Linked DNA regions of Homo sapiens: region 2 is linked to region 1. The links are contacts of gene promoters, found by promoter capture Hi-C in blood cells and fetal thymus (Javierre and others, 2016). All regions are on one chromosome and are shown on one strand. Each heading gives the region's core, a stretch centred on a gene start or on the middle of the fragment in contact. The rest is flanking DNA. Distances are from core to core; before and after follow the strand shown. Region 1 holds the start of SLC2A2 (solute carrier family 2 member 2). Region 2 has its middle 83 kb from the start of TNIK.

What was found. The method cuts DNA at HindIII sites, captures the fragments that hold promoters and counts their contacts. A CHiCAGO score of 5 or more calls a contact.
Region 2: a contact is called between a fragment that was not itself captured here and the fragment with the promoter of SLC2A2 in region 1, in 1 of 17 cell types (endothelial precursors). The highest score is 8.0, in endothelial precursors.

Annotation. Positions count from the first base shown.
Region 1 is chr3:171,024,566-171,029,222 of GRCh38, reverse strand. It overlaps SLC2A2 (solute carrier family 2 member 2), which reads left to right and starts at 2,503. Exons shown (of 11, transcript NM_000340.2): 1 at 2,503-2,567. The coding sequence starts at 2,553. The HindIII fragment of the contact is 3,598 bases long and covers 1,105-4,657 here.
Region 2 is chr3:171,541,328-171,545,984 of GRCh38, reverse strand. No RefSeq gene overlaps it. Among named protein-coding and RNA genes, the nearest start is that of TNIK, 83 kb to the right of the region's middle. The HindIII fragment of the contact is 1,507 bases long and covers 1,668-3,174 here.

The DNA.
Region 1 (4,657 bases), core at 1,254-3,753:
ACCTTCCGATATTCTCTTGTACTCCTGGCTTGGCCAAGTTTGACCTCATTTAATTTGTTCCCAGGAGATGCCTTTGCACTTAACCACATCTGACCCAACTGGAGAGGAATGCAGCATGCTGAAATAGCTGGTTTATCTCTCCACTCTCCCCTCCTCATTTATGGAAGAAGAAAAAAAAACTAATTTTACTGAAGGAAAGGATGACAATGAAAAAAGGGGAGAGGGAGGGCGGACTCTTTTCAGTCCTGTCACCACCTAGAACTTCTGGCATCCACCAAGATTACATTAATCAGCGAAGTAATCCGAATGTGACCTAGAGGGCTTAAAAGTATGAAGCCTAAAGAACAACCACACAGAACTGGTTTCGCCCTGCCCAGTGGAAATCTCCGGGTGATTGCAGGCACTGGTGCACGTTATTGAATAGCGCCCACTCCAATGGCAAAGTGCGAAAAGACTGACTTCACCACAGCCAGGAGTGCAACGACCTGCAGCTCCTCGGTGGGCGCCAAGACACGCTCTCCTGAAAGGCTGGAATCGCTTATCAGTTCTCCGCGGGCAAAAGCAATCAGAGCATCAATGTAAATGAATCGCACCCCCTCCCCGCACGGAGATAAAGTTTTAGCATATCCCAGATGGTGCAGAGATTACTCATTCATTTCTGAGAAAGAGCAGAACCACAGAGGCCTTGGCTGAACCTGAGGAAACTGATCAGGGTGCCCCGAAGGCCCGCTAGTGAATGGCGGGTCGCGCTCCCAATGGGAGAAGAGAATGGTTTCCTGCCGCCGTGCTCCGCGCCGGCAGGCCGGGGCTGAGCACAAGAAGTTAAAGGCTCACTGGCCGCCCGCGCACTCAAGGCAAATTCCGTTTCTGAAAAGGCAGGTTCAAAAGACAAAGGTTGGTAAACCACACCGGTATCATTTACGACGCGGCACAGAGACGCTTTCCTGCAGAATGTCATGTCACTGGCAAATGCCATGGAACCGCTCCTGACTGTGGACCGCTCTGGCAATGGGGCGTGCTCATCACCAGCCAAAACTGATGCGGAAAGTCAGCGTGGCTAACTGGGCGCTTTAAAGTCTGACTTCAAAGCTGCTCCCCAAAGCTTGGCACTATGACACAGAGCACCTCATGTTATGACTAAACGAGTTAATCCATGTCAAGTGCTGAGAGCAGCACCTGGCACCCGGCAAGACCTCAGTAAAGATTAACCATCATTACTATTAATATTTGCTCACGCTTTTCCACTATGAAATTATTGTATTGTGTCTGCATTACATATGTCTCATCTTATATGTTATAAACACCTAGAAAGAGGAGGCTGTGACTTATTTATCTCAGTCATCTCGGAGCATGGAACTGTGCTGGACTCAGTAAAAGTTTGTAGTTTGATTGAATTACCTTCTCAAACCAAACATTTCAGGTGTGTCACCTTGCAGAGGTGACAGAAATGAAAACAGGGTGGCAAAATAAAAAGGTGAAATCTGAATCTCCTCTAATCCTTCATTTTCTCACCCTGTTTCTTCATAACACCCCTCATTGTGTTGCTGCTTGTTACATTTTTGTTCCGCTGGGAACTGGTTCCATTTGAGCCTCAGTGCAATCTGTGGCCCCAGTTGCCACACACACTTAAAGCTCAATAAATTTGATATCTCCTGAACCCCCACAGGGTTTGGATATCATAAGGGATACTTAGGCCCAAGATCAAGCCATATGAGCAGGTTTATTTGAGAACTCTACGTTAAAGCCTCCAGCAAGTGCTTCTTGACATATATGAAGCAATAATAATAACAACCGCTATTTGCTAAGTACTTATTATATGTTGAGATATGCCAAACACTTTCACATATTATCTCATTTAATCCACTCAACAAAACAAAATGTGTGTTATTTCTATTTTATCAGGCAAAAATAAAAAACTAATCAGAGAAAAGTCACAGTGAGCCACTTGCTTAAGGTTATACTCCCCAGTAAAATGTTGAGATTCAAACCCAAGTCCCTAACAATCCAAAGCTCATCCAGGTAACCATTCAAGTCAACAATGGTCTCCGGCCACACAGCTCAGCTCTAAACAGAAACACCACAGCACTAATTATCTGTGGAGCAGAGTGCAGTGTGCCTCCCATGCTCCACAGCACAGCACGGCAGCTCAGCATATCTCATCTTCTACAAAAGACTCCAAAGATTTCTCTTTTCACCAGCTCCCAATTACTGCCACATAACACATGCCTTGAAATGTGATTGCCTCTGGTTTGTAACTTATGCCTAAGGGACCTGCTCCCATTTTCTTTCCTAGTGGAACAAAGGTATTGAAGCCACAGGTTGCTGAGGCAAAGCACTTATTGATTAGATTCCCATCAATATTCAGCTGCCGCTGAGAAGATTAGACTTGGACTCTCAGGTCTGGGTAGCCCAACTCCTCCCTCTCCTTGCTCCTCCTCCTGCAATGCATAACTAGGCCTAGGCAGAGCTGCGAATAAACAGGCAGGAGCTAGTCAGGTGCATGTGCCACACTCACACAAGACCTGGAATTGACAGGACTCCCAACTAGTACAATGACAGAAGATAAGGTAAAGCAGCATTATATTCATTTCAAGTCTGGTTTTCAGGAGATAGTTAGGGGAATACAGTCAAGTCATACAGAGGATTTGGGGGAGGTTGGGTGTAGCTACCACAGATCAAAATTAATTCTCTTTACTTTGCCAATTGAAGAACTGTTTCTTATTCAGTAATTGGGGTTTTAAGGATTTTTGCTCTGTTAACTGACTAGTCTGCATAAGTTTTTTCAAGTAATTGTGCATAACCATATTACTAAAGAAATATGTCCCCTCCTAACCAAAAAAAAAAAAAAAAAAAAGGGGGCAGATTGACCTAAATTTAATCATGAAAACTCATCGGGAATCTTCAAAAACGTCAATGCAGGAGAGACAAAAGAGGTAGAAGGGTTGTTCTCTAGATTAAAAGGGATTAAGACAAACTGACAACCAAATGCAACAAATGATTTAGATTGTGGAAGGAAGAAAAAAATAGCAATAAGGGAACTATGGAGACGTTGGGAAATTTTAAATATGGGCTGCATCTTAAATAATATTACTGTATCAATTTCACACTCTTGGATATAATAATGGTATCTAATTATGTAGGAGGATGTCTTTGTTCTTTGTACATGCTAAAGTATTTAGGGGTGAAATGACACAAATATCTACAGCTTATTTGTAAATGGTTCAGCCAAAACAACACACACACACAAACACTACAGAGCGAGAGATCAACAAATTGGTGAATGTTAACCAGTGGTGAATAAAGGCGAAGGTTATGGAATGATCACTTCACTACTGTTTCAACTTCTCTCTAGATATGATACTTTAAAAAAAAACTTAAAAATATAAAGGATATAGTGTCCTTGCTCCCTTATACGTGGTTTCTAAACTCACCCACCCCTGTACACACAATCATATAAGTTGATCAATCTGTGCCCTGTAGGGTCTCACCTTTAAGTTCTCATCTGGTGCAACTTACTCTGCTGAACATTCCTTCATGTCATTAGATGGCATGGTTAGCTGCACTGGCTTTGGAGTCAGCCAGACTTGGATCTGGGTTCTAGCAATGCCACTAAACTGCTGTGAGGCCTGGGTTAAGTTATTTAACTGAGCTTTGGGTTTTCTCTATTGTGAGAAAACAAAAACATATTAGGATACAATATACCCTTTATAGGCAAAGAAACTTGGGCTCAGTGATATAATATGGGATATTCAGGGATTATACTAGTACTTTAGAGTTAGGGAGTAATTAAATGAGATTATATTAGAGAGGCTTAGACAACAATTTTAATGTTAATAGTTATATAATTATTAATAGTGTTAAATACATATTTAAATAGTATTTATAAATTATAAAAGATAAATTATATTATAATGTATAAACACTTTAAATACATATTATATAAGCACCATTTATATGTTTGATATTTAAAGTTAAATATAAAATGCTATTTATATAGCATTTATATAGTATGTATTTAAAGAATAATTAGCACATCATGATTTCATGAGTATTATAGCCCAGGATAAAGCTAAAGTAGTTAGAACTTTAAGGTCAATATAAAGACAAACATTAAGTTAACAACTACATAGATGGTATGTAGATTTGGCAAAATTCATGAAGGTAGTAATCAAATAACTAAAGTTTGAAAGCTACTGCAAAAAGGAAGGTAATGTGCTTAACATAGTGTCTGGCACATCGCAGATGTTCAAGATTCATTCAAAACTATCATTAATTTTCTTAGGGGCTTTTGAAATTACGTTGTAGATCTTTTCTTGATAACCAAGGAACTGCCTAACAATGGAACCCAGAAAGAATGAGAACTGAGGTAGTGCAATGTTTTTCAGCTTTGTGAATCTATCCAGACTTTGAAAGAAGTAGGATAAGCAAGGAACTGGGGTCAAGAGACCTGAGTTGTCACACTGAATATGCCCAAAATGCTCACAGAAATCAGACAAATGACATAAACAACTTGGCCTGTGAGACCTCAGTTTCTACAACTGAAGAATGGAGGAATTAGACAAGAATCCATTGTTCTCTAAGGTCTCTTTCAACTTAAAAATTCTGTGACTTGATAAGCCCCTGGCTTTTTCCAAAGTTGCATGCAAGATCACCTTTG
Region 2 (4,657 bases), core at 1,172-3,671, 520 kb before region 1:
TTTTTACTCAAGCCAGGACAATTGAGCCCCTCTCTGGGATTTTAAAACATGGCACCAGAGAAGGTGAGCCCTAGGCCCCTGGTAAAGCGGAGAGATGGGAGCCAGACTACACTTCCCTGCAAGTGGAGAAAGCCTGTCAGAGAGAATGAAACCAACATAAAAATGAAAGCAGAGGGAATAGTCAGAGGGAAAAGAGCCAGGTCCACTCCCAAACTCTACTGGCTCTGCTGCCACTTCTCCAGTAGAGTTACGGAGCAAATAAATCCCCATTTATGCCCACACTAATCTGAGTTAAGTTTTTGTTACTGGCATACACACACACACACACACACACACACACAGATTGAGAGAGAGAGAGAGAAAGAGACAGAGCATGGGGCAGGCGGGATTCTGATAAGTCCATAGCATTGGGCCTAAGTAAGTCATATGAGCACATATAATGGAAATCTATTTATAAAGGATCCAGATTTGAGGTATATCTTTGTTTTTTATTTTTTTGTTTTTTGTTTGTTTGCCTCAAGAGAAGACTTGAGTAAGTTATATCACTATTGGAAATGATGTCGTCTAGAGTTTTCAGAACACAGCCTTTGGCTGCAGTGCCATAGATATGATGGTAATATCTTCCTGGCCCATCTCCTCCCAGTATAAACTATTGCTCTCATCATGGGCCTTTGGAATCTTGGCTTTCACCAACGGTGATATTTTTCCAGAGCGCTAATGTCAAATATCAGAGGGGCAGAAATTAAATAAATGTGAAATTTTCAAAAAAGCAGAAGACAATGATAATATTCAGGATTTCTCAAGATCACAAGTGTCAAAGACATTTTGTTCAATTTATTTTCAGTATCCTATTTCCTTAAAGACACTACCAGGATATGTTTTTATTTCTGTATTGTCAGTACCTGGAATTTGAACACACAAAAGATAGTGAGATGTTTCCAAGGGTCAAGCAAGATTGAGAAGTAGTTCTTTTCATCTCAACCACTTAGTATGTTATTTTTCATAACTCTTCCCTGCTGAAGATAGAAGACATGCATTTTTTTGTTGTTGTGTTTTGAAATTTTATAAATAAGGAATTAACCCAGAGAGGTTGCTCTACAGTCACAGAAGTAACATTGAGGGTATAATCCATGCCATTATATTATGGTTATTAGTCTAATAAACATTAGTTTACGTTTATTAGACTAGACTTGTATGTGTGTGATACATTACACACATACAAGTATCTCTTGCTTTCCAGACTATCACTTTTTGAATTTAAGGACCAAATAGATATGTATAAAATTTTAGATCTATGCTGTCCTCTCCTATTTATTCTCCCTTTGCTCTCCATCCAGATCCATTTTCCACCCTCCAGTGCCTACTCTAAGCCCCAGAGGCTGACAACTAGGATAGCATCCCCTGGGTTGCCTTGCCCTCCAGCTTCTAATTGGGCGTGGCCAATGGGAGATCAATGGTGAGCGTGTTTGGGGTATCTATTTCCCTCCTCTACTGTGATAAACACTGTTGGTGCCACACCCACATGCCTGTTTTTGAGCATCCATTTCCTGGTTTCTATGTCCTTTGTTTCTGTTGGCTGACACCTGCAGCTTTCCTCAGAAGCCCACTTTGGGCCACAGAGCCACTTCACCCAGTACAGGTAGACAGCTGGGGGGTGTCTGGAAGCTTATGTCACCTCTGGACATTAGCCAACCACTGAGGTAAGAGGTTGAAAACCAGCTCCCTTGCCTTGAGGTGGGAAAAACTCTGAAGGGTGATGACTCTGATATATGATTTCACGCCAGAGCAACCTCTGGGGTTGGGCTGGTGCTGGGACATTGCTTGAATCTGTAATTTGCAAGGCTTTCCCTCTTTCCCTGTCTTGGTTCCCTGTTTCTCTCATGTGTGTCTCCAGAGAGCACTTCCTCAATCATTCACTTACACGCAAATCCTTGCTTCAGAGTCTGCTTCTAGGGAACCACAACGAAGGCCTCTCCGATATCCATTTCCTTAGAGCCTGGCCACAACCTCAGCAGGGGCCGAGCCCCTCTACAGCCGCAGATCCTATTGGGTGGCCTTGGGAAAAACATTCCTTCTCTTTGTCCCTTTAGGACTAGGGATGTTAACTGCTTCCCATTGGTGCTAGTATTTGGGTTCCTGTTGGTTCCCTTAATCTTGCCCACCACTCTCTAGCTAACATTCTCTTTTACCCCTTTTTCATTAAACCCGTTGAATTAACCATTACTTTCTGACTGGGACCCTGATTGAGAATCCTCTCTGCTCCCCCTTCCAACTCTGCTACTCACTAGCTAAACGTCGAGAACCAAATTGATTCAGATAACAAGGCATCCCTTGCTATCCAAACTCTCTTGTCAAGAATCTCCCTATCTGAACTCAGAGAACCAACGATTTTGGACAGTGAGGATAATTACACACATACTCATATATACAGATGCACATATACACACACATACACACACGTATCTCATATAATTATTTTGAAAGTTATGCTGAGGACACTAAAAGAAGACAAGTGGTAGAAAATGCCTGAAAAATGTGAAATAGATTTCTGTTCTGCCCATGAAGGAATAGCTGTGACAGAATTACCTCCTTGACATATTCCATTAGAATAATGGACAAAATACATGAAACAACTGTTTGCAGTCTTTGGACAGAAAGCAAAGCAGGACTGTAATCTCTGGGAGAGGGGAAGCATATGATGTGAGCCCTCCTTATGACTACCCCAGTTACTTCCTGGAGGCAGTTTCCAGGCTGCAGGGCAGGAAAAAGGAAACCCAAACAGGTATAGCAGTCTCATTGAGTAAGGAGGTGGAGATCAGGTTTCAGGGAGGCCAGGGCAAAGGACCAGAAATGAGGGAGACACACAGACAGAGCACTGTGGAGCTCTGCAGAAGGGCCCCTTCGAATCTTTGACTGCTGCTGACCTGTGCATGTGTGGGGTAAAACTATGACGCTGGAAAAAGAAAAGCCAGAAAGAAGTAAGCTCAGTAATTCTTGGAGTTTACACACGGCTGGGAAATGTTCGCTTTTCCATCAGTCAGAGTAAAGAGGCCTCATAATACACAGGGAATTGGGCTGAGCCCTCAAAGTGCATTTTCTAGTTGAGCTAAATTAACCCTAAAACAAAGCCAGGACCCAGCCTAACAAAGCTCTGGACCCAGCCTAACAAAAGCTTAAAAACAAGGCTTGAAAGAATTAAACTGTTTCCAAGTAACTTAACTGCCTATCAGAACAAGGTCCACACTTATTAAAAGAATTCAACAAAATCTGGCACCCATAAACAACAACAACAAAAAACAAACAAAATTATATCTACAATGGCTGTCACCTAGTAAAAAGTTACCAGGCAAGAAGAAGAGAAAAATATGACCCATAGTCAGGCTAATAATCAATCAATATGAACAAAATTAGAGATGACAGAGATTATGGAATTAGAAAAGACCTGAACCAGTTATTAGAGGTATGTGCCATGTGCTTGAAAATGTAAAGCAAAACATGAATATAACAACAAGAGAAATGGAAGATATTTTTTAACAGACTCAAGTGGAACATCTAGATATGAAAATATATTCTAAATAAAAAATACACTGAATAAAAGTAACAGCAGACTAATACTATAAAATAAAAAATTAGTGAACATAAAGACCCAACAACAAAAATTACCCAAAATGAAGCACAGGGAGAAAAAAATATTTTTAAAAAATTAATAGGCTGGGCTCTGTAACTCATGCCTGTAATGTCAGTGCTTTGGGAGGCCAAGGCAGGAGGATTGCTTCAGTCCAGTAGCTTGAGACCAGCCTGGGAACATAGTAAGACTCTATATCTACAAAAAATGAAAAAATTAGCTGGGCATGGTGGCATGCACCTATAATCCCAGCTACTGGGGAGGCTAAAGTGGGAGGATTGCTTGAGTCCGAAAGTTACAGGCTGCAGTGACCTATGACCACACCAGTCCAGCCTGGGCAACAGAATGAGACTCTGAAGAAAGAAAGAAAAAGAAAGAGAGAAAGAGGGAAGGAAGGAAGGAAGGAAGGAAGGGAAGGAGGAAGGGAGGAAGGTAGGAAGGAAGGGAGTGAGGGCTCCATGACATTTGGGGAAATATCAAGTTGTCTAAAATATAGTAAATGCAGTTCTAAGAGTAGAGGAGAGAAGGAAAACAAATATTTGAAGAACTAATAAATAATAGTTGAAATTTCCAAAATTTATGAAAAGTGGTAAATGTATAGACCTTAGAATCTCAACAAAACTCAAATGGAATAAACATAAAGAAAAATACATAAAAGCACATTATAGTTAACTTGGTGAAAAACAGTAATAAAAAGCAGCCAGAGAAAAGAAACCCCTTTACGTGTCAAGAAACAAGGTAGCATTAGAGCGTATTTCTTGTAAGAAACTATGCAAGCCAGGAGACAATGAAGTGACATCTTAAAGGACTGAAAGAAAAAACAACGGTCAATGTAGAATTATATTCCCACCAAAAATATCTTTCACAACAAAGACAAAATAAAGACTTTTTCATACAAACAAAAGTCAGTAGACCTCCACTGCAAGACATGCTAAAGGAAATTCTTCAGGCAGAAGGAAACTGATGTCAGTGGAGAATTTGGATCTAACAAAGGAGTAAAAAACAGGAAATGGAAAATATGAGGATATACAT